Regions from separate parts of the Homo sapiens genome. Here region 1 is linked to region 2. The links are contacts of gene promoters, found by promoter capture Hi-C in human tissues and cell types (Jung and others, 2019). All regions are on one chromosome and are shown on one strand. Each heading gives the region's core, a stretch centred on a gene start or on the middle of the fragment in contact. The rest is flanking DNA. Distances are from core to core; before and after follow the strand shown. Region 1 overlaps IFNAR1 (interferon alpha and beta receptor subunit 1). Region 2 holds the start of IFNGR2 (interferon gamma receptor 2).

Region 1 (3,381 bases), core at 640-3,139, 63 kb before region 2:
TCGCTTGAACCCAGGAGGCACAGGTTGCAGTGAGCTGAAATCGTGCCCCTGCACTCCAGCCTGGGTGACAGCAAGACTTCATCTCAAAAAAAAAAAAAAACCCAACAAATATTGAATATATTTCATGCCAAACACTCTTCTGACTGCTTAGACTGCCTCAGTGAACAGGAGAGGCAAAGATGGCATGAAGTTATATTATGAAACGGATTTCATGAAGTAAATATTACATTAGTTACATATTCATATTTCATATTCTGTTCTGAGCTAATTATTGCATATGATAATAGTTTTTTTGTTGTTGGTTTTTTTTTTTTGAGACGGAGTCTTGCTCTGTTGCCCAGGCTGGAGTGCAATGGCGCAATCTCGGCTCACCGCAACCTCCGCCTCCCGGGTTCAAGCAATTCTCCTGTCTCAGCCTCCCGAGTGCCTGGGATTACAGGCATGCACCCCCACGCCCGGCTAATTTTGTATTTTTAGTAGAGACAGGATTTCTCCATGTTGATCGGGCTGATCTCGAACTCCTGATCTCAAGTGATCCACCCCCCTCGGCCTCCCAAAGTGCTGGGATTACAGGTGTGAGCCACCGAGCCCGGCCAATAATGATTTTTTTAAGAAAATATAAAAGTAGCTTCTGCTGCAATATCTTGATTAGATGTAAAACAGTTTTAATGGAGCATGCTTCAGCATCTCCTGAAGTAGGAAAGACAGATGTAAACAGTGAGGTTGGGTTGAAATTATATTAAGTTTTAAATTTTTGATAAGGTTTTCTGTTTATAATGAGAGTTTCTGGATTTTTAGAAATAGATTCTGATGTGGAACCTTTTCAAGAATGTTTAAGGTATTTTTAATGCCAGCTCTAATCTCAGGCCTCAGATATGTAAAAGTGGAAGTGAAAACTGGCCAAGAATGAAGTATTTCATATGCTAGTGTATATTTTTGGTAATTTCTTAAAAATGTTTCCATTTTGAAAAACAAGGTAGACTTGTATTTGGTTCAGCAACAAAATTATTTTGGTATTATCTCTGGTTTCTAATATCTAAATCGTCTTTAAAATGGCATCTGTGATATTATTAAAAATAAATAAATCAGCTAATGAATTAGGCTTGACAAAAATGCCTTCCCAGAAGATAGTTTCTCTGCTACTTATGGTCAATGGGCTTAACATAGGTAAAAGTTCTCAAATCTGCTAAATTGGCCGGGCATGGTGGCTCACGCCTGTAATCCCAGCACTTTGGGAGGCTGAGGTGGGCAGATCACCTGAGGTGAGGAGTTTAAGATCAGTCTAGCCAACATGGCAAAACCCCATCTCTACTAAAAAAAAAAATACAAAAATTAGCCAGACGTGGTGGCACACGCCTGTAATCACAGCTAGTTGAGAGGCTGAGGCAGGAGAATTGCTTGAACCTAGGAAGTGGAGGTTGCAGTGGGCCGAGATTGCACCACTGCACTCCAGCCTGGGCAACAGAGTAAGACTCTGTCTCAAAAAAAAAAAAAAAAAAAAAAAGAAATCTGCTAAGTTCGTTTCTATCCCTCACTTTCCCTGCAAGCTCTTCTTCCCCTTTCTGGGCAACATGTCCTTTTCTGCTTTAGGCACTCCATGCCCACTTTATTTTTCATGTTTGCCCCTTTTTTGAAAGGAAGAATCTAATATCACTTCAGCTTTCTGATTGGCCAGTTCCACTTCCAAAAATTTATTTGTTTATGTAAACATTTTCAGTTTTGTGGTTTCTGATGATGTAATAGAAGAAATTACGGAGACAGGCAAGCAGAAGGGATGGTTTGCTTTTGGAGAGGGCAGAGGAAACCTTGAAACCATACTGATTCTGAGGTCTTTCTTAGGGAAGGTAAGTCTATTCATAGGAGGAGGTCAGAAGGGAATCATCAAATCCAATTCCCCAGTTTCTATTTAATTTTATTTTATTAGAGACAGGGTCTTGCTCGGTTGCTGAGGCTGGAGTGCAGTGATATGATCATAGCCTACTGCAGCCTGCAGCCTTGAACCCCTATGCTCAAATGACCCTCTCACCTCAGCCTACCCAGTAGCTAGGACTGTGGGCATGTGCCACCATGCCCTGCTTTGCCTTTTTTTTTTTTTATTTCTCATAGAGACAGGGTTTGCTATGTTGACCAGGCTCCAAACTTTCAATAAGGAAGATAAGATCCAGAAACACAAAATAGTTTACCAAAAGTCACACAGCTATTTTTAACAGAGCCAACATACTAAATCCACTTTTACCTTATGGGTCATTTATTTCTCTGCTTCCTGAAGCAACCACCCACAAAATTATATAAAGAACTGTATTTTAAAATTCAGTTTCATAAGTAATAACTTGGCTTATATGCATTGAAAAAGAGTGGAAGGGTGTATGCTAAAATGTTAATAGGACATTAGCTCAAGTAGAAGAAATAACTCTTAAACCAAAAATAGAAATAACTCTTAAACAAGAGTTATTAAGAGTTAAGAAATAACTCTTATACCAGTAAATAGAAAGTATTTGACACTTACATTTATACATTTGCTCACTCATTCATTTGTTTTTTTTACTTTAAAGAACTGGGATGGATAATTGGATAAAATTGTCTGGGTGTCAGAATATTACTAGTACCAAATGCAACTTTTCTTCACTCAAGCTGAATGTTTATGAAGAAATTAAATTGCGTATAAGAGCAGAAAAAGAAAACACTTCTTCATGGTATGAGGTTGACTCATTTACACCATTTCGCAAAGGTAAGAAAAAGTTGCTAGCTGAATTATATTCTTTAGTAAATATTACCAGAGCAGTTCACTTTCCAAGCCATTCATTTGCATGATGCAAAATCTAACATCTTTTAAAAAGAACAAAAATTCCCTTAAACCTATATCTTCTTCCTGCTATGGCTCCATTTGTCCTACTTTCCCTGTAGTAGTGGTTCTCAAAGAGTGATCCTCAAGGCCCTTTCAGGGGGCTGTAAAGACAAAGCTATATTTATGACAAATCTAAGACTTAGTTGCCTTTTTAATTTTTGTTCTTTCTTGTATTCACAGTGGAGTTTTCCAGAGGAGGCTGTTTGATGTGTGATGTGGTGATATGGTCACTGATTTAACATAGAATTCAATGTGAAATTCATCTGCCTTCTTTATTAATCCAAACATTCAAAAGATTTGGAAAAAAAATGTAAAACAGCACCACTCTGAAGTTTCTATGTTCCTTTTGGCAAATGTTTGTTACCATAAAATAGGTTTATCATTGTTATTTCTTTCTTTTTTTTTTTGAGACAGAGTTTTGTTCTTGTTGCCCAGGCTGGAGTGCAATGGCACAATCACGGCTCACTACAGCCTCTGCCTCCTGGGTTCAAGTGACTCTCCCGCCTCAGCCTCCCGAGTACCTGGGATTACCAGCA
Region 2 (2,923 bases), core at 424-2,923:
ATAAAGTCACTTTCTTTCCACCACATCTTGCTCTTGTTAGACTCTGCAAGCAGCCAGCGACTGAACCAGCATTCGGTTACATCCCCTGAGGCGGATGACACTTGTGTGATCCTGTAACCGATTTCTTGTTAGAATGTTGGCATCTTTCACCCAGTCGTTTTCTTGTAATTTTATTTATTTGTTTGAAAACAGAATCCTTCTTGCAATCCTGTCATTTTCAGTGCCTTTTTTTTTTTTTTTTTTTTTTTTTTTTTTTTTTTTTTTTGAGACGGAGTCTCGGTCTGTCACCCAGGCCGGGGTGCAGTGGCGCAATCTCCGCTCACTACAACCTCCGCCTCCCGGGTTCAAGTGATTCTCCTGTCTTAGCCCTCCAAGTAGCTGGGATTACAGGCGCCGGCCACCACGCCTGACTAATTTTTGTATTTTTAGTAGAGACGGGTTTCAGCCATATTGGCCAGGCTGGTCTCCAACTCCTGGCCTCATGTGATCCGCCCACCTCGGCCTCCTAAAGTGCTGAGATTACAGGCGTGAGCCACCGCGCCTGGCATCAGTGCATACTTTTTGAAGTGATTCCAAGTTATCGCCCGCTTTTTTCGTGTAACATATAAATACATCTCTGTATCTAGAAATATCCAATGCATAATTCAATTGTCTGCGAGGTATTTCATCACGTATTTTCACGAGCGTGGCCAATTTCAAAATAGTTCTACAAAGAGGAAATGCAAGAATGTGGGAAGAGCAAAAGAAAAGCTCTATGTTGCAAAACCCATTTTTGCTAACGTGTCCAGTGGGCTCCCGGGACGACCTGTTTTTAAATTCTTGGTCTCCCTGCACCGCGTCCCTCCTTTGCTGCGCTAGCTTTATGACGCATCTTGGAAGAACAGGGCAGATTTAAAACCCTCTCCCAACAGGCGTCAAACGACATGGTGCAGGCTCGGGCTGGGGAGCGGGCCTGCGGCTGCCCAGCTGCTAAAGGACTTCCTACTCGTGCACCGCCGCCGGCTCCAGGGCAAACCCCACGCCATTTAGAAATGCTGGAAGTTTCTGTCTCTCCCTCCCCCTGCTCGGAGGCCATTCCCCCCACCCCCAGAGCCCCACCTCCTCCTTCACTGGGCCCTTTCTAACTCCTTCCCCTTAAAACCCTTTTCAAAATGGGGTTGACTGGAGGCGGAGGTTGCAGTGAGCCGAGATCGCCCCACTGCACTCCAGCCTGGTGACTCCGTCTCAAAAAAAAGGGGAGGGGGGCGGGGGAGAGTTGAAAGCTTAATATGTACTTTGGGGGCTATTAAAGCAAACATTTCGACTAAAGGGGCGAATCCTCGAATTGTGCGATCAAGCACCCGAGAGGAGAGTTGGGGGGGGTCAGGAGGGGTGGGGGCTCCAGGGAAAGCCCGGGGGTCTGGGCCGGGGTCTCGCGGGGCCCTTCCGGAAGGATCGCGGCCCCCGAAGGTGGGCGTCCCGCGGGGCTCCAGTCTCCAGGACGTTCCGGGAGGCTCCGCGCTCTGGGAGGCCGGCTGCGTGGGGTCCCCGCGCTGCAGCCGCAGAGGCCCCCCAGGGCCGCGGTTCCCGGAGCGGGAAAGTCCCGCGCGGGGGCGGTGGCCTCGGGGGCGGGACGGGGCGGGGGCGGGGGCGCGGGCGGCCGAGCCGAATCCCCTCCACCGGGACGCCCCGCTGCTGCTCGGGAAGAGGCGGGCCCTGCGCGCCCTGCGCTCGCCATGGCGGTTTGGGCGGCGACGTGAGCGGCTCCGCGGACCCCGAGCGGGGCCCCGGCCGCGACCTGAGCCGCCGCCGAGCGCCCGGGGCCATGCGACCGACGCTGCTGTGGTCGCTGCTGCTGCTGCTCGGAGTCTTCGCCGCCGCCGCCGCGGCCCCGCCAGGTGAGCCGGGCCTGGGCCTCCGCGGCGGGACGCGGGCGCAGCCGCAGCATGTGGGGGCTGGGGGACTCCCGGATCGTGGGGTGGGGGGAATCTGCCGGGTGCTCAGAGTGGGTGGGAATCTGCGGGGTGCTCCTGGTGGGTGGGATATGCGGAGTGCTCAGATCAGGTGGGAACCTGCGGGTGCCCCAGGTGGGGGTCTTGCGGGGTGCCCAGGGCTAGAGGGGCCCGCTGGGAGCCCGCAGCGGGGCTGGGATGGGCGGCCAGGAGTTCCAGACAGGAGCTGGGCAGCAGCAGGAAGACGGGGGGCACCCCTCCTGGCGTCCTGGCCGCCGGGACACCCCTCTCCGGGAGAGGACACTCGGTGCCCCTCCGTGAAGCCGGTAACCTCGGCTGCGCCACCTCCCCCACCCGCGCGCCCGCGCCGGGAAAGCCAGCGTGGCCCCAGTCTCCGAATTTCTCGGAATGAACAACAGCAAATTGAATCCAGGGCTCCGGCGGGGGCCGCCTTTGCTGGCCACTGGTTCTGCAGCCTGGCGAGACTGCGCTTAGTCCCCGCCTGGAGTGCCTCCCGAAGGCCTGGCTGGAAGCTAGACTCAGTCCCTTTGTAGTAGCAGCGGTGGAGCAGGGACCAGCGTCTTGGACGGGTGACCCAGACTCAATTCCGACTTTGGCCGAGGGCATGTTTGACACTGGGTGTGAAATCTAGACAGTTCCCGCGGTCATAGAGATGGGGCAGCAGCATTCAGGCAGGGCTCAGAACTGTCCGGGTCCCATCAGTGTTGGGGCGGAAGAGGAAGAGTGTCAACTGAGCCAGGCATTTATTTATTTTATTGTTGTTTGAGACAGGGTGTCGCTCTGTCGCCCAGGCTGGAGTGCAGTGGGCAGCATCTCAGCTACTGCAGCCTCCGCCTCCCGTGCTCAAGCGATCCTCCCACGTCAGCCTCCCAAGAAGGTGGTATTATTGGCCACGCCTGGCCAATTTTTGTATTTTTTGTAGAGAGGAGGTCTCACTGTGTTGCCCAGGCTGTTCTTGTACTCCTGAGCTC

Evidence for each region. Contacts are between HindIII fragments. The study calls those that stand out against the background at their distance.
Region 1: a fragment that was not itself captured here is called in contact with the fragment with the promoter of IFNGR2 in region 2 in 1 of the 25 tissues and cell types used here (spleen).

The regions. Positions count from the first base shown.
Region 1 is chr21:33,338,447-33,341,827 of GRCh38, forward strand. It overlaps IFNAR1 (interferon alpha and beta receptor subunit 1), which reads left to right. Exons shown (of 11, transcript NM_000629.3): 3 at 2,553-2,728. Among named protein-coding and RNA genes, the nearest start is that of IFNAR1, 15 kb to the left of the region's middle. The HindIII fragment of the contact is 9,296 bases long and covers 1-3,381 here.
Region 2 is chr21:33,401,740-33,404,662 of GRCh38, forward strand. IFNGR2 (interferon gamma receptor 2) reads left to right here and starts at 1,674. Exons shown (of 7, transcript NM_005534.4): 1 at 1,674-1,877. The coding sequence starts at 1,805. RefSeq lists cis regulatory regions at 219-1,406, 791-1,406, 1,389, 1,399, 1,676 and 2 more, promoters at 622-1,778, 622-1,260, 632-1,799, 1,394-1,798 and silencers at 1,353-1,892, 1,903-1,982, 2,003-2,052, 2,193-2,242. The HindIII fragment of the contact is 6,342 bases long and covers 1-2,923 here.